6 separate regions of the Homo sapiens genome follow, and regions 1, 3, 4, 5 and 6 are each linked to region 2. Evidence: promoter capture Hi-C in 16 types of primary human blood cells and fetal thymus (Javierre and others, 2016). All regions are on one chromosome and are shown on one strand. Each heading gives the region's core, a stretch centred on a gene start or on the middle of the fragment in contact. The rest is flanking DNA. Distances are from core to core; before and after follow the strand shown. Region 1 overlaps STK32A-AS1 (STK32A antisense RNA 1). Region 2 holds the start of PPP2R2B-AS2 (PPP2R2B antisense RNA 2). Region 3 has its middle 130 kb from the start of STK32A-AS1. Region 4 has its middle 78 kb from the start of STK32A-AS1. Region 5 overlaps STK32A-AS1 (STK32A antisense RNA 1). Region 6 overlaps STK32A (serine/threonine kinase 32A).

What was found. The method cuts DNA at HindIII sites, captures the fragments that hold promoters and counts their contacts. A CHiCAGO score of 5 or more calls a contact.
Region 1: a fragment that was not itself captured here is called in contact with the fragment with the promoter of PPP2R2B-AS2 in region 2 in 4 of 17 cell types (naive CD4 T cells, total CD4 T cells, total CD8 T cells and 1 more); the score reaches 13.9 in naive CD4 T cells.
Region 3: a fragment that was not itself captured here is called in contact with the fragment with the promoter of PPP2R2B-AS2 in region 2 in 1 of 17 cell types (total CD8 T cells); the score reaches 5.1 in total CD8 T cells.
Region 4: a contact is called between a fragment that was not itself captured here and the fragment with the promoter of PPP2R2B-AS2 in region 2, in 4 of 17 cell types (naive CD4 T cells, total CD4 T cells, total CD8 T cells and 1 more). The highest score is 6.5, in naive CD4 T cells.
Region 5: a fragment that was not itself captured here is called in contact with the fragment with the promoter of PPP2R2B-AS2 in region 2 in 4 of 17 cell types (naive CD8 T cells, total CD4 T cells, naive CD4 T cells and 1 more); the score reaches 9.7 in naive CD8 T cells.
Region 6: a contact is called between a fragment that was not itself captured here and the fragment with the promoter of PPP2R2B-AS2 in region 2, in 1 of 17 cell types (total CD4 T cells). The highest score is 5.4, in total CD4 T cells.

The regions. Positions count from the first base shown.
Region 1 is chr5:147,203,479-147,206,223 of GRCh38, forward strand. All of the region lies in intron 1 of STK32A-AS1 (STK32A antisense RNA 1), which reads right to left. Among named protein-coding and RNA genes, the nearest start is that of STK32A-AS1, 30 kb to the right of the region's middle. The HindIII fragment of the contact is 3,791 bases long and covers 1-2,745 here.
Region 2 is chr5:146,561,717-146,564,482 of GRCh38, forward strand. It overlaps PPP2R2B-AS2 (PPP2R2B antisense RNA 2), which reads left to right and starts at 1,510. Exons shown (of 6, transcript NR_188288.1): 1 at 1,510-1,755. The HindIII fragment of the contact is 13,845 bases long and covers 1-2,766 here.
Region 3 is chr5:147,101,953-147,104,662 of GRCh38, forward strand. No RefSeq gene overlaps it. Among named protein-coding and RNA genes, the nearest start is that of STK32A-AS1, 130 kb to the right of the region's middle. The HindIII fragment of the contact is 6,090 bases long and covers 1-2,710 here.
Region 4 is chr5:147,155,509-147,158,473 of GRCh38, forward strand. No RefSeq gene overlaps it. Among named protein-coding and RNA genes, the nearest start is that of STK32A-AS1, 78 kb to the right of the region's middle. The HindIII fragment of the contact is 3,896 bases long and covers 1-2,965 here.
Region 5 is chr5:147,180,535-147,183,433 of GRCh38, forward strand. It overlaps STK32A-AS1 (STK32A antisense RNA 1), which reads right to left. Exons shown (of 4, transcript NR_147190.1): 3 at 1-210. Among named protein-coding and RNA genes, the nearest start is that of STK32A-AS1, 53 kb to the right of the region's middle. The HindIII fragment of the contact is 4,960 bases long and covers 1-2,899 here.
Region 6 is chr5:147,243,488-147,246,362 of GRCh38, forward strand. The region is part of intron 2 of STK32A (serine/threonine kinase 32A); the gene reads left to right. Among named protein-coding and RNA genes, the nearest start is that of STK32A, 9.9 kb to the left of the region's middle. The HindIII fragment of the contact is 8,414 bases long and covers 1-2,875 here.

The DNA.
Region 1 (2,745 bases), core at 127-2,626, 640 kb after region 2:
TATGTTGAAGAGACATCCGCATCCCCACGTTTATTGCAGCACTATTCATGATAGCCAAAATATGAAATCAACTTAACTGTCCATCTCAGGATGAATGGATTAAAAAATGTGACATATATTTTGTTTTTGCTTTTATTTTTAAATGTCGATTTTACAGTAAGAAAGAGAGATAGAGAAATCAGAGAGCTGGGCATCGTTTGAAATCTAGGTGGAGAAAGTCATGGCTCCCCAGCTCTTGTGCTCTGCATGCCTACAGAATTAGCACCACTTAGATATTACCAAGGCTTAGTGCCCAAGCCGCACCTGGACCCTGAGCCACAACTAGAGTGACTGAGGAGCATTGTGCTGAAATGTGGGGAGCAGGGACTTAAAGCAGCCTTGGGCAGTGAACATTGTGGTCCAGTGAGTCCCCTAGGTCCCTTCCTCCAAACCATTCTGTCCTCAAGGCTCTGGCACTCTGGGCCTGTGATGGGAGGGGCAGCCTCAAAGATCTCTAAAATGCCTTTGGGGTCATTCTCCCATTGGAGAATTGGTGGGTCTTATAAATAGCACCCACCTTCCTTCTATTCTTCTCATCCAATGGTAGCTTAGCTACATCCTTGGTTTTCCTTCCCAAATATTTTTTTTTATTTTTAGTTTTTCACATGGCCAGATTGAGTTTTCCAAATCTCTATGTTTTGTTTCCCTTTTGATCATAAATTCATCTTTAAATCATTTTTCCGTTTTCACATTTTACTATGAGCAGTTAAGAGAAGTCACATAGCACTCTCTATGCTTTGCTTCTTAGAGATTTCATCTGCCAAATATCCTAATTCATGCTGTTAAGTTCTGCCTTCCACAAAGTTCTAGAACAGGAACATAGTTTAGTCAATTTCTTTTTTTTTTTTTATCTTTTCTTTTTTGTTTTTTTTGAGACAGGGTCTGGCTTTGTTGCCCAGGCTGGGTGCAGTGGCACAATCTCAGCTCACTGCAACCTCCAGCCCCTGGGCTCAAGTGATTCTCCTCCCTCAGCCTTCCAAGTAGCTGGAACTTCAAGTGTGCACAACCATGCCTGGCTTATTTTTGTATTTTTTGTAGATAGGAGGTCTCACTTTGTTGCCCAGGCTGGTCTCAAACTCCTGGCCTCAAGCTATCCACCCACTTTGGCCTCCAAAATTGCTGGGACTACAGGTATGCCCCACTGTGACTGGCTAGCTAATTTCTTCACCACTTTGTAACAAGAATGGCCTTTCTTCCAGTTTCCAATGAGACATTCCTCATTCCATCTAAGACCTCATCTGAATGACCTTTATTGTCTGTTTTTCTATGAGCATTCTCGTCATGACGTCTTAAATAATATCCAAGGAGATTCAGATTTTCCCTACAGCTCTTCTTTTCTTCTGAGCCCTCACCAGAATCACCCTCCATGCTCCATTCATGGCAATAAAGGCTTTTTTCAGCATTCACTTCAAAACTATTCTAGCCTCTCTCCATTACCCAGTATCAAAGTTCCTTCCACATTTTTAGATATTTGTTATAGTAACACCCCTCTCCTGGTACAAATTTCTGTGTTAGTCTGTTTTATGCTGAGACTGACTAATTTTAAAAGCAGAGAAATGAGTTCCTTCACAGTTCTGGAGACTGGGAAGTTTAATTTCAAGGTGCTAGCATCTAGTGAAGGCCTTCTTGCTGTTCCTTACATGGCGAAAGGAAGAAGGGCAAAAGAGAGTGAACCCACTACCACAGGTCCTTTTTATAGTGGCATTAGTCTATTTTTGAGGGCAGAACCCTTATGACCTAAGCACCTCCCATTAGACCCCACCTCCCAACAGTGTGGCTTTGGCAGTGAAGTTTCTAACAGATAAAATTTGGAGACACATTCGAGCCATAACATAGAGGAAGTTACCATTTAAAATGTAGTCTATTTAGAATATTGAGATTCTGAGTGACTTTTACATTTTTTATTGTGTATTTCTATAAGTAAAGGCCAAAGCAATGTTTTTCTTTTATAATAAAGAGTGATTCATTGGCATTTTATTTTTTTTCCAAATCATCTTTAATTTGGATAGAAATTGCTTTAGATTAATGGATTTATCTTATTTTTTCCTGAGACTGTTTTTCAATCAGCAAAACGACTGTTGATATAGTTAATCTAAAGATCTCTGATATGATAGATGTCTAAGAGTAACCACTCTGTGCACACTAAAATGCTAGAAAGGAAACAAACCAAATAAGTAAAGAAGGCTATTTCCTGAGAGAAGGATTCAGAGGGAAGGACTTTCCTTTCCTCTGTACCTTTCTCTATGGTTTAAATTTAAAAAAAAAACCAGTGAATATCATTTTGTTACTAAAATTGAAACCAATATTTTAACAGAACATAATCTGCACTGCAAAAGTACTAACTCCTATATGATGAAAACTGAAGGTCACAGCCAAGTCTCAGGTGTTGTAGACACTGAATTTCAACATTGGCTTTGTGACACCACAACAGAATTTCAATTACAGGATGCTCTGTGTTTAGAAAGAAGGAATATTAGAGACCATCTAATCCAAACCTCATCTGACAAATGAGTAACCTAAAACTTAAATATCATGGTCAGAAAAATGATAAAAATGTGTGTTCAATTACTAGATATTGTATTCTTTCATTCATTCGCCAAATAGATACTGAGAATCTGCTGTGTGCCTGGCACTGTTCTATGCATGAGGGAGCCAATGAACAAAACAGAAGCAATTCCAGCCATTGTGAAAGTTAGACTCTAATGG
Region 2 (2,766 bases), core at 260-2,759:
GGTCATTCAACAAACATGAAAGGAGAGAGTGTGGCAGGAAAGCGTGGTGTGAGATGATTAGAGAAGTGTGCAGTCCAGAGCTAAGAGTTCATAATAAGAAATTTGGATTGTATTCTAAGTACAGCTGGAGGATTTTATGTGGATGCTTGACATATTTTGGTTTATGGTGGTGGTGGGAAGGTCACTCTAGTTGCTGTGTGTGGACTAGGTTGTAGTTGTGGGGAGGAATGGGAGCGGGAAGGGCAGTTGGAGGCTTCTGCAGTGGTTAAGGTGAGAGATGACGGTGGCTTGGACCAGTGTAGTTATCAGTGGCATGATGGCAATAAATAGATGGGGTCACGAGTTTTTCTGGAGGCTCTGGAATTTGGTGGCCAGGTCTTATGTGTACAGAGAGAATCCGCCCATGGATTCAGTGTGGGCAAGAATGGAGTGAGGGAAACTGAGGATGGCTCCTAGGTGTTTTATGGGTTTTAGGTTTTGGCTACCCTCAAATCTAGAAAAATTTGGCAATTTCGGCTCACATAATATATCAGCCTTTTTCTGCCTTGAGGATTTTCTCATTAGCTATGTCTCTCCATGAGCCTCTCATCTTTTCTATGCTCTGGGCTTTCTCTTCTTATGTTCTCTGTTTTGTGGGCTGAATATTTTTGAGCAGGGATGGCATTATTTAGAGCTTTTTATTGGTAGCCTACTGAGTGCTCAAACCTGTGCTAGTCCCTATAGGGAATATGGAAAGACTTCTTGGAGCCATTATTATGCTAGTGTCCATTGTGATGCTCCTGGCAAGGGCATTCTCCTATTCCTATGACCACAGAGCTTCCCCTTCCCCTTTGCCCTGAAGATTCTCTCATGGGACTAGTGTTTCATTGAATAACATGTTGGTTATGTGTAGCATGCTGGTTACGTGTAGCATGCTGGTTATGTGTAGCATGCTGGTTATGTGTGGCATGCTGGTTACGTGTAGTGTGCTGGTTACGCGTAGCATCCTGGTTATGTGAGGCATGCTGGTTAGGAGCTCTAGGCTCAGGATCTTGATTCTGCCCTCTTTGGTTGCATGAGCTGTGCAAGCTGCTTAACATCTTTCAGGCTAACTTTCTATATTTGTAAAATGGGAAACAGACTTCTTAGGAAGATTTTAAGAGATGTCTTACAGGACCTGGCAGATATATGCTCAATAAAAAGTAAACTAGCTGGTGTTGCTGCTGTTGCTCTTACTGTTGTTTTTATTGACTTGAATAAAGGAATCTTGCACCTGTCAAAATGAAACACTACATAGTAGGTCCTGATATTTTGCCATACTCAGCTGGTGATAAGAATCAGAGAAGCCAGCCATTTGAATAACTATGATTTATTGAATTCTTACCATGTTCTAAGTTCTTTATGTATACTGTTTCGTTTAATCTTCACAACAATTCTAGGAGTCAGGTTCAATTGTTATTGCCATTTGATAGATGATGAGGGCAATGAGTCTTAGAGAGGTTAAATAATTTGCTAAAGGCCACACAGCCTGTAAAGTGGCAGAAGCTGGGACCATCCAACTCTAAAGCCCACATTCTTAGACATTAGGGGATATTGAATGAAGTGTGTGTATGTATGGGGGAATTTAAGAGAATATCAAACCATTTGTAGAGTTCTACCCAATATAGAGACCTTATCTAATGTAAGAGAACTCTGAAGACATCTCATTGATTGAATGCTCTCCCCTTCATAGCAACTTCTTCTGCGGCTTCCTTGCCTGGTGCTCCAGTCTTTGAGGTATGCTTGATGGTTCTGAATTCAGATTTGAATCATGTGTCTGCCTGGTTTTTGTACCCTTGGACAGCAAACTTAATCGCCAAGGCTCAGTTTTCTTCCCTTTTTTTTTTTAAAGTGGTTATAATGGTATCTATGCCACAGGCTTGTGGTAAAACTTAGTCTGATGAGATCTGATACATGCTGATGTTTATTGGGCACTTAATATTATTATTAGTGAAACCTGGCTAAATATAACTCTTTGATGAATGTATGTAATTTCAGGGAGTTAGTTTTACTAAAGTACTTGAAAATGTTAATTGATCTAGGATACTTTTATTTCATAGACAACGTATAGGTAAAGTCAATAACAGTTATTTTAGATTTTGTGAATTCTAGGGTAGTAGCATTAGAATGGAAGTTTTATTTCTTTTAATTGGACTACAGCCACCATTCCATAAATCTACTGCACACCTTAAGTCACCCAGTGCTCTTGCATTCATCTTTGTTCATTGCTTGGATGTCAAGCAGTCTGCCTGGAGCTGCTTATAGAGGCCTAAATTTAGAATCTGCCTACCTATAAATAAGGTCCAGAAAGATAGATGACTTCGGTCACCTGAAACTGTTATTAGAAAACACATAGACTAACCTATCAAGGGAATGAGAGGGAGGACAAGAGAGGTAGGCCTAGGGAGAGGGAGGACAGAGCTTAAAAGGAGGGGTTGTGATGGATTGTTTAGCACCTGTAAACAAAGAACTGTGCCTGGGGCTCTCCTGGCTGTTGGAAATCCAGCCCAAATGTTCAATGACTCACTCAATCGTTGTTCAGCTTGTTTAAGTCCATGCCATTTGTACATATGATGGGATTTTATGAGACATTTTACAACAATTCCCCACCAGTGTTTGGGGAAATCATGTCATAAGATTCAACCTTCTTTCTTTTTCCATTCTGAGATGGTTTCTCCTAAAATAGCTTTTATGTGCCCTGAGCAGTTGGCTACTCTGTTTCTACTAAGAAATACAGGCTGGCCTCAC
Region 3 (2,710 bases), core at 63-2,562, 540 kb after region 2:
AAATTAAGATGATGATGATGATGATGATAGCAAGTAGCCTTCACTAATCACTTAAGGTGTGCCAGGCATAACTTTATTTAATCCTCACAGCAACCCTAAGAGCTCCACTTCTCGTTCTGCAGAAGTGAAAGCTGAGGCTTAGAGAGGCTAAGTATGTTGCTCAAAGTCATATACAGCGAATAAATCAGGGAACCATGGAGACAGGCACTTTCTTGTTTCTGCCTCCGATCAGATTGTTTTCATCTCCTTTAATGTTCTCTCCTATTGGATGCCTCTGATATACTGGCTTAGAAATAGGGTGTCTCATTGGCCAGGTTTTCCACATCATGGAGGTGATGTAAATATATAGGGGAGCTGATAGGGAATGTCAGTCAACATGAAAAATTCAACCATCACCAGTCTAGGGAAACAATAGAGTGAAACACAGTCCTAGACCCAAGTCTCATTACTGACATTTAATATTAAAACTGATTTCAAGAGACAACCACTGGGATAGTTGAATAATTACAAATCCAATTTAATAAATGCTCTCTAATTTTATTTGTCACATATTAGAACTGGATTCAGAATCTAAAAATCACTGTTAAATTGAAGAATCTGAATAAGCAGGAGGTCCAAAATAAAGTCGAACTGACTCAATTCGATTATATTTGATAAACATGGTTTGGTAAGAGGTGTTTTCAAAACATCATTGTCCTATCCAATGTGTATTTACCAAGTAAAACACATAAGCTGCACTCCAGAAAGCATTCAAATTTAAAGACAGTAATGCATCATTTCTCCAGCATTTGTTACCCAAAATTCTTTTGCATAAACAATTTTCCTGGAGTATTATTGAAAACCTATTCTTCAGAGGAGACTGACCTGTTTCTCACTAGCATGATAGCCCCCCAACAGGGACACTCGCAGTGACTGTAGGGCCCTAAATGATAGCTGGTCCAGTAGTTGCCTCTGATGCAGACTTTAGAAGCCATATCCAAGTTGAGGTCTGAAATATTCTTGTACCTTTATAGGTATCTGTACATACACTGAATGGTAACTTTTCAGAGGTAGAAATGGAACAGAATAGCGTAGTGGTGAAATACAAAAGTTTTGAGATTAGACCCCAGCATCTCAGTCTTGGGCCTTCTATCTAGAGTGAAGATATTAGTGATATTCACTTCCTAGGGCTGTTGTGAGGGTTATATAAGAAAATGCCTTTATATCTCTTAGCAAAGCCACCAGATAGTGAGAACTAAATAGTAAGAACCACATTATTATTACTACTGTAACCACTATCAATACCACCATATTACTACCACTATTATTACTATTACCATCATCCTATTACCATTACTCCTCCTCCTCTTCTTCCAACTACCACCGCTGCCCCCATGGCAATTACAACTACACTGTTACTATCCATCTTCATACACTTTTAAAATGTCTTTTCTACATCCTCATTTTCTTATGTGTTCTTTTACTGCTTCTATTTATAATAAGAAATGAAATTGTTTTTCCTGCCAAATGAGTCACTTGAGATTGGAACATCAATTTATTTGAGCAGATGTGTGTCAGTTTTGCTGTGAATAAAAGGTCCCAATAAAAGGTCCCAAAAGGTCCCAAAATATTGCTCTGCTGACATATTTAATGAAAAACGAAGTGTGGGTTGTACATAAATTCATATTCTCAGCTCAAGTCCCACTTCCTTTCAAAAGCCTTTGGCCCACATTGATGTCTGCCTTGTCTGAAACAGCAATCATTATATTCTCTAATTCTTCCATGTTTGTGAAACTTATTTCCCCGATTAATAAGCTACCTGTAGGCAGACTTTAATACCATAAACATAATAGGCATTCCACAAATATTGATATGTGAAGATGGTATTGAATAAGTCAAGACTCTGAGCCCTATAAATATATCTATTTGTTCATGTAACCTAAAGTCCAGGGATAGGTCAGGGACAGCTGGGTCTGGGGTCTCACAAGTTGCCATCAGGGTTCAGTCTCCCTCTCTCAGATCTACTTCCCTTTCTCAGATCTGCTTCCCTCTGCTATTTCCAGGTAGGCTCATACCTTGTGTTAGGGGGCTGTGTTCATATTCTCACAGCAACAAATGCAGTGGAAAATACACTGCCTTTCCCTAGCCACTCCTACATATATCTCAGTGTAGGCAACTTCAGTTATGTGCCCACCCCAGACCTAATGGGCATGTAGTGAGCCCCATCCAATCACCTGAGCCCAGTGAAGCGGAGGAAAAACCTTCCCAAAGAAATTCTGGAATAAGAGCAATAGCCTTTGGTTGGCGAAAAAGCCTCTATAGAGATCTCGCTTTTCTTCTGTTACTGCCTTAGCTCTAAACACAGTGTAAAAAATAAAAATATAAAACACAGCAGGTACTCACAGTAAATTTTGAGATGAATGGATTTTTATGTATTAAACCTTCAGCCTAAATCCTAATCTGTTTTTCCTTCTGACTGACACTTTGTGGCTAGATCCTAAAAATGTGGAAATATTTGCTTGAAATCCACATAGTTTTAAAGTTTACTCACGCCTGTAATCCCACCACTTTGGGAGGCCGAGGCGGGCAGATCACGAGGTCATGAGATCAAGACCATCCTGGCTCACACGGTGAAACCCCGTCTCTACTGAAATTACAGAAAAATTAGTTGGGCGTGGTGGCGGGCGCCTGTAGTTCCAGCTACTTGGGAAGCTGAGGCAGGAGAATGGCG
Region 4 (2,965 bases), core at 59-2,558, 590 kb after region 2:
ATCATGGTGAAACCCCGTCTGTACCAAAATTACAAAAATTAGCCGGGCGTGGTGGCAGGCACCTGTAATCCCAGCTACTCAGGAGGCTGAGGCAGAGGAATTGCTTGAACCCGGGAGGCGGAGGTTGAAGTGAGCCCAGATCACACCACTGCACTCCAGCCTGGTTGACAAGAGTGAGACTCTGTCTCAAAAAAAAAAAAAAAGAAAAGAAAAGAAAAAAAAATTCAGACTTGGGAGTCAGGCAGATTTGAGTACCAGTCCCAGGCCTGACATTTATTGAATGTACAATCTTGAACAAGGGTTTGACTTCTCTGGGGCTCCATTTCCTTATATGCAAAATGTTTATCTTTATCTATTACCCTTATCTATCTCTTTGGGGTTTGTGAGCATTAAGTGAGCTAATGCGGGTAAACCACTGGGCACCATACTGGATGGCAGAAAGCACTCAATGGTGGTAGCTGGTCCTGCGGTAAATGGCTTTCACACAGGGATGGTTCCAACAGAGATATCTAAATGCAAACAAGTGCCTAGTAAATGAACACTCAAAGGTTAAGTACTTAAACCGAAGGAGTAAAATGTTCAACGTGAGTTTATGTTTTTCTGTTAGTTCTATTCTTTGCTGAAGCTAAGGAGGGGTGGTAAGGAGCCACTGGTATTTGTATAGGGGAATCTCATTTCCTTTAGTGCAGGAGTGTGTCCATACCCGGAACCGCCCCTCGCTATGGAAACCAGCACAGGCAGTCCCACAAAGCCCTTGAATGTTTAGCAATTTCCCAAATCATAGCAACAAGCCAGAGAAAAGGATGCAGCTGAAAATAGCAAAGGTGGAGACCCAAGAGGCAGTGGGGTCACTCCTAATGCTGAGCAAGTTTTTAGTAATCTTATCTGCTATGCCCCCAGCATCTTTTCTTTTGTTAAAAAGCTGTGGCAAAAATAATGCTGTCAGCAAAATGCAGAGAGCAGTGAGTCTGATGTAAAATAATGATTCCGTTCTCTAAAGGCTCATGGTTCTTTACAGTCATTGTATACCACATGCTTTTGAGGCTGGAAGTTGACAGGTAACATCAGAGGGAAGAAAAGGAGAATTAATTTGCTTAGTCTGGACTGCTATTGAGAACCTGGGCTGTAGATTTGGCTCAGCCACAAAATCAAGACATAATATGCACAAGCCCTTTTGCCTGTGAAGCCCTGGCCTCAGTTTCTTCACCTTTGAGATGAATGGTTTCTAAAGAGAAGCTGAGCTCCATGAAGGCAGGGCTTAATGAATCCTTGGTACCTATAGTAAGGCCTGACACACAGCAGGTGCTGAATAAATCAGATATTATTGTTATCAAACTAGCAAAGTTAAGACGATCCTTTACTTTGCTATTGAGACTCCCTTCTATGAGCATATCGAAGAAGCTATGAGTCCAAAACTAGCCAAGTAACCCTTTAAAAGAAGTGACGCTGCCTTTCCAAAGCCAGGCTAATACTGCATACAGACTACACAAGGGCCAAGATGCCCAGCCCAAAGCTGAATGAATCCTTCTTAGAATCACAGGGTTGTGAGGAGCACTTGAGGTCCTCCTTCTCTGCATCACCATCAGAGCCTCTCCACTGAATGGGAAGGCTGCAGTATTTGGAGGAAGCCCAGCTGTTTGAGGGAATAGCAATAGCTAACCCTTCACAGCTTAGAAACATTGTCTTATTTGGACAGAAGTCTTGTGAGAAAGGGAAGTGGGTGGCTTATCCAATGTAGGATGAAGAAACTGAAACTCAGACAAGGTATCCACTTGATCAAAGTTAATTCATTGGTAAGTAGAACAGCCAGGAATTGAGCCTGAGAATTTAAACTCCAAGATCCCAGCATTCCATAGTAAGAAACTGTGGATCCCCATCTGTTCCCACACTATGCTCAAAGATCCTGTGTCCCGAGCAGAACAGTAATTCGTAATAACCAGCATTCATTGCTCCTAGCATTACCAGATACTGTAACTCAGGCACTGTTCTCAGCACATTACATGTTAACACATTTCATCACAGCAATGCTGTGAGGCAGGCACTACTTTTATTCCCAATTCAGAGATGAATGAAGCACATAGATTTTGAAGTAGCTTGCCAGAGTTTACCCAGCTACCAAGGGAGGCTGTAGGTAATCAGGGAATCATTAAGTCCCTTTCTCCCACTCATGAGAGAGTGTCTGGGAGGTTGGGGTTTAGGAAGAGCCCCTCCATCTTTAGCTCACCAAAATGTGCCTAGGGAATCCAAAGAGGTCTGACTATGTTTGAGGATGGAAATTGGCCAGCGTCTGTCATCTCAGGTTTGCAGCTGCCAACACCAAAGGGATATATTCCCTTTCCTTTGTGGAGTCATGCATCATGACCTCCTTCTCTATTTCCAGCAGCTGCACCCTTTCATTTTGCCAAAAGTTTTCTCACTGATTAAGGCAGGTCTGAGAGAAGAGTTGGCCTGGGATTTCCAGGAGCCTCTTCTGTCACTGGCTCCTCTGAGTGAGGATTAGATAGCAAAGGTAGGGCAAGGAGAAGGTAGGGCCATTAGAAAACCCATTTGGTTTTCAAACACCTACCATGTGACAAACACTGAAATTAGCCCATTCACTCATTCAAAATGAGTTTACTGGGCACCTATTATGTGCCAACCTGGCTGTTCAATATTAATTAATTTTAAAATACCATTGGTCATCTATAAATATGAAGCCTGATAATAGGCATTATGCGTGAGTGATGATGGTTATGATAAAATTAATATTTATTAAAAACTTACCAGTGTTCTAAGGATATGCCATTTAATGATTTAATCATCATGACTGTAAGATTACTACTATTACTGTTTCTATTTTATAGACCATAAAACATATGGCTAGAAGTTTAATAAATTAGCCAATATCACACAAGGGGTAATTTGTAGAGCCTGGATATAAAAATGACTAGAACTCAGTCCCAGCCTTAGGGGAGGCTCAGTCATT
Region 5 (2,899 bases), core at 280-2,779, 620 kb after region 2:
TACTGCTCCTATAGCCATTACTGGTGGATATGGTAATCTCTGTTTACTGATGAAGTAGCTGAGTCTCTGAGAGATCAAATCACTTGCTCCCCAAAACCAGAGCTATCTAGCTTCAAAATCAATGTATTTAGCAGTAGGCCACATTCTTTTTCATAGACCCACAGCCAGGACAGAGTGATTCCAAGTCTCTTCTTCCCTCTGTTTCTCCATCTGCAAAAAAAAAAAAAAAAAAAAAGAGAGAGAATCATATTTTCTCTGTTGAAAACTGCAACAGTTTGTGTGAAGAACCAAAGAGATTCAATGTCAAAGAACTTTGAAAAGTATGAAGACATAAGGGATTCATATTTACACCCATATTTCAGCTAAGTTTCCTTATCTGGCATCAACAATTAGAAAACGCCAAGTCTCTCCCACTCGTGCTGATAAGGCTGTGACTAATAATGTATTCCCTACTTTCCTTTATAGCAGGACTCAGATCATTGTTTGTATCCAGCCTTTTCCCAGACAGCCCTGTACTTTAAGACTGATACACCTGTAACCCCAGCAGCTTGGGAGGCCGAGGTGGGCAGATCACCTCAGGTCGGAAGTTTGAGACCAGCCTGACCAACATGGAGAAACCCCGTTTCCTCTAAAAATACAAAATTAGCTGGGTGTGGTGGCCCATGCCTATAATCCCAGCTATTTGGGAGGCTGAGGCAAGAGAATTGCTTGAACCCAAGAGGCGGAGGTTGTGGTGAGCCAAGATTGCGCCATTGCACTCCAGTCAGGGGAACAAGAGTGAAACTCCATCTCAAAAAAAAAAAAAAAAAAATTGATATGGTTTGGCTGTGTCCCCACCCAAATCTCATCTTGAATTGTAGCTCCCATAATCCCCACATGCCATGGGAGAGACTCAGTGGGAGGTAATTGAATCATGGGGGCAGGTTTTCCCATGCTGTTCTCATAATAGTGAATAAGTCTCATGAGATCTGATGGTTTTATACAGGGAAGTTCCCCTACACATGAGCTCTTGCCTGCTGCCATGTAAGATGGGTCTTGCTTCCGCTTTGCCTTCTGCCATGATTATGAGGCCTCCCCAGCCAGGTGGAACCGTGAGTCCATTAAACCTCTTTTTCTTTATAAATTACCCAGTCTTGGGTATGTCTTTATTAGCAGCATGAAAACAAATACAAGATTAAGCTGCCTTCATCCCCAGGTTCAAGGGTGGACACTGACAGGTCTAAGTTAATCAAAGTAATCTCAGTCCCCTGAATATAGTGATTCTTTCAGTTAACTTTGACTTAAGACAAGCAGCCCATGTATTCCCCTAACTAGGAGATTGAATTGAATTTGGACCAATTAGGTGCGTATTGATTATATGCTATGTAGCTGAGAAGCCTGAAACCATAATAGCTATTGTCCACTGCAAGGGAGGGTGGTCATAGGACAACACTGATGATATCAAAAGTAATAAAAACTTAAAAAAATGGGCTGGGCACAGTGGCTTACACCTGTAATCCCAGCACTTTGGGAGGCTAAGGCAGGCAGATCACCTGAGGTCAGGAGTTCAAGACCAGCCTGGCCAACATGGTGAAACCCCATCTCTACTAAAATTAGAGACTATAAAAATTAGCCAGGCATGGTGGTGTGCGCTATATTTCCAGCTACTCAGGAGGCTGAGACAGGAGAATCGCTTGAACCTGGGAGGAGGAGGTTGCAGTGAGCCTAGATCAAACCATTGCATTCCAGCCTGGACAACAGAGCAAGACTCCGTCTCAAAAAAAATGTTATTTATATTATTATGCTCAAGTTTTTGACAGTTTCTGTCCAACATCTGATGATCCTCCACCCTTCTTGAAGGTGATTATTTTTAGGACATCCTCATTTAAACTTGCATATTTAATCTCTGTCTCATCCCTAAGTCATTAATATTATTGCATCCAATTACTTTATATGAAAAGGCAATCTAATCTTCGCCTCGTTGTCTCATTTCCTAAAGCACTAAAACTTCATGTTGACTTTTGGGGCACGCGGGGAGAGATGTTTCCTAGTACTGCATTTTACAAATTAATGTTTGTTAGGCATAATTCCTTGAAATGGACTTGTGCTCTCTGGGATTCATCTTACTTTGTAAGTCGGAAGCACCTTTTCCTTCACTGAGAAGTGCCACTGACTGTTTAAGACTCTACTTTTTACATGTAAAGCAAGAAATATTAGTAAAATAAGGTAAATAACTTACTTTTTAGTATTAAAATGCTGTTGTCAAAGAATTGTATGCCAATGCTCAAAAAATAGATGTTTCTTACATCTCCTTAAAAGAGGAGTTTTGAAATAGAAAACAGATAAATGGGAATGTTTTATTCCACCCCAGAGCTGACTTCGTATAAGGACTTCGGGTTTCTGCATTTGCCTCCCAACCCCAAATTTTATATTTTTGGTGGCCAATTTCTTGTGGTCTGGAAGAAGCTAATTTACATTAACTAGCTCCCAGCAATTGCCTGTCCTTAAAGGCTCTCAAATCCACTTCTTCTTTTGCCCATCACAACAGACACTGCCCAGATTCAGGGCCCCATCACTTCCACCTTGCTGACCACAATAGACTTCTCACCATTGTTTCTCACTCCTGTTTCTCGTCCAGTGTCTGCACCTTGTTGCTGCTGGAGCTTTCTTTTTTTTTTTTTTTTTAATATATATATATTTATTATACTTTAAGTTCTAGGGTATATGTGCACAACGGGTAGGTTTGTTACGTATGTATACATGTGCCACGGTGGTGTGCTGCACCCATTAACTCGTCATTTACATTAGGTATTCTTCCTAATGCTATCCCTCCCCCCTCCCCCCACTCCACAACAGGCCCCAGTGTGTGATGTTCCCCTTCCTGTGTCAAAGTGTTCTCATTGTTCAATTCCCACCTATG
Region 6 (2,875 bases), core at 119-2,618, 680 kb after region 2:
CAGCACTTCAGGAGGCCGAGGCGGGCAGATCACGAGGTCAAGAGATCGAAACCATCCTGGCCAACATGGTGAAACCCCATCTCTACTAAAAAATACAAAAAAAATTAGCTGGGCATGCCAGTGTGCGCCTGTAGTCCCAGCTATTCAGGAGGCTGAGGCAGGAGAATCTCTTGAACCTGGGAGGTGAAGTTTGCAGTGAGCTGAGATTGCTCCACTGCACTCCAGCCTGGCAACAGAGCAAGACTCTGTCCAAAAAAAAACGGCTTGCTTATTTGATTATATAAGATATCTTTCATAAATTAGATCTCAAATTATACTATTGTTTTGCAGTTTTAGCTTTTATGTTTTAGGGCAAATCTTAAGTCCTAATTACTTTTTTTTTATTATTGTGGTAAAATGTATATAACAAAATGTACCATTTAATCATTTTAGAATATACGGTTTATGACATTAAGCACATTCACGTTATCATACAACCATCACCACTACCCATCTTCAGAACATTTCTCTTCTCGAATTGAAACTTTGTACCTCTGAAACAATAACATCCACATTCCATCCCCTCCCCAGTCCCTGTTAACAACCATTTGACTTTATGTCTCTATGAATTTAACTACTCTATGTACCTCATATAAATGGAACATATAAGATTTGTTCTTTTGCATCTGGTTTATTTCATTTAGCATATATTTTTAAGGTTCATCCATGTTGCAGCATGTGTCAAGATTCTCTTTCTTTTTAAGTCTGAGTCGTATTCCATTGTATGGATATACCACATTTTGTTTATCTTTTCATTAGTTGACATTGATTGTCCTCACCTTTTGATTTTTGTGAATAAGGCTGCTATAAACATTGGTGTGCAAATGTCTGTTCAAGTCCCTGTTTTCAATTCTTTTGGGTATATACCTAGTAGTGGAAGCACTGGATCATATAATTCCTTGTTTGACTCTCTGAGGAACCATCATACTGTCTTCTACCTAATTATGCTTTGTGTTTTAGTAATGGGACACAGCCTGGCATGATGGGCTAGAGTATTGGAAAGGCATGCACAGGTTCAAGTCTCAGCTGTGCCACGTGCCAGTAATCTACATGTTTCTATGAGAAGAGTCAAAGAGGATATAGCCTGGTCAACCATTATCAGACACTGGAGTCAGTTTGACTAATTATATGGTGTTCTAAGGAAACTTGAGGTACCACAAGAAAAGTCTCCAAACCTAAATAATTACTAATGAATTAATTGAGGGGGAAACTTATTTAACCTTTGTAAGCCTCAGTTTCTTTGTATGTAAAATGCAGGTAATAATTGGGCATACTTCATTAGGTCTTTGTGAGGATTGAATAAATAATGCAAGTAAAACACTTAGCAAAGTATTTCCCATAAAGTAACCACTCAATTAATGCTAATTAAGTGTTATTTACTAACATCAGAGTTTCCTAGTGTGAACTCTTTGAAGTACTTTAAGTTCTGAGAAAAACAAAATTAATTAAATGCAACTCTGTCGATTCCACAGTTAATTAGACCTATTCATGTTTCTATTGACTGGATTAACAGAACGGCAGATTTTATGGATTCTGTTAAAACCTATATAAAAACACTTTAAAAGAAGCCAAGTTATTGACTGCACAAAAACATAATCTCATCTGATATCTTTTTTATCCCCCTGAGGTTATTGTATTTTTGTTTAAGGCAAAATCAAGAACTAATTGGGATGAAAATAACTAAAGTTTACTTTGTCTGATTTAAGTCCCAAACTGACTAATAAGTAATCCCATTTGATCAACAGATTCAGTGAAAACTGTCCCCCATTCTCAACTACCATATGGATATTCTGAGAAATAATTAATGATGCAGAAAACCATTTTTTGTTTTCTGAAATAAAAGAATAGACGTGCAAGTAACACTTCTTTTTAATGCTTACAACCTTTTTTAAAAAATCTACTTTATTTTCTCTATCTGAATGCACTAGATTTTGTTTGTTTGTTTTTGTGGTTGGTTGGTATGGTTTTGCTTATTGAGGTTTTCAGGCTGATTTAGAAAAAAGAAATTTTTACAGGAGAGAGTGGACTTGTTTACAATTCAGAGTTGAGGCAACAAAAAAAAATCTTGCAGTCATTATGAGTAATATGTGTATCCAAGTTTATACAAAGAATGTAAAGGTGATAAAGTTGGCTTAGTTAAATCAAGAGACAGCCTTCTTCTAGAATATTATAGCTAAGAAAATTTGGACTTAAGTTTAAAAAGCTGCTCTAAAGAGTTCATCAATGCCCTGAGTTTGCAGAGAGTTCAATTATTGCATTATTCTTTGGACTTGCTGAAAACTCAGTGTTCTACTTTTATTTGGCAACACCATCTCCTAGGATATGTGGCTGTTTCCAGTTTTCCAGCATCTTCAGTGACAGAGGCAATGGGATCCTTTAAAATGTTGGGCCAAGAAAATTGGCCACAGATTTGCAATCCAAAAGAAATAGGAGGTTGCTAAATTGATTCCAGCTATGAAGGACATCGAAAATTTCTTTTGTTATTTGACTGTCTATCATGGTCTATTTGCACTCAATTTAATAGGCAAATGAATTTCCGACTTTCCCTTAGCAGCCTTGAGTAATGCTGTCTCGTATTTATTATTTTGCATTAGAATGGTTGGAAAAGTTAAAGGAAAATTTCCCTAGCAAGAATTGGCTTCTTAAAAAAATAAGTCATCTTGGACAACCTAACATTTAGTAAAGGCATTTGTCATAAATAACCTCAAGTCCAATTTATGGCAAGGGTTTTAATTTGTAAGGGCTTTATTTCTCCATACAAAGGGATTGGAGAAACAAACTAGAAAGCCAGAAAACAGACCACAAACACTGAGCTAGTGGTTCCAACTGGAGTGTT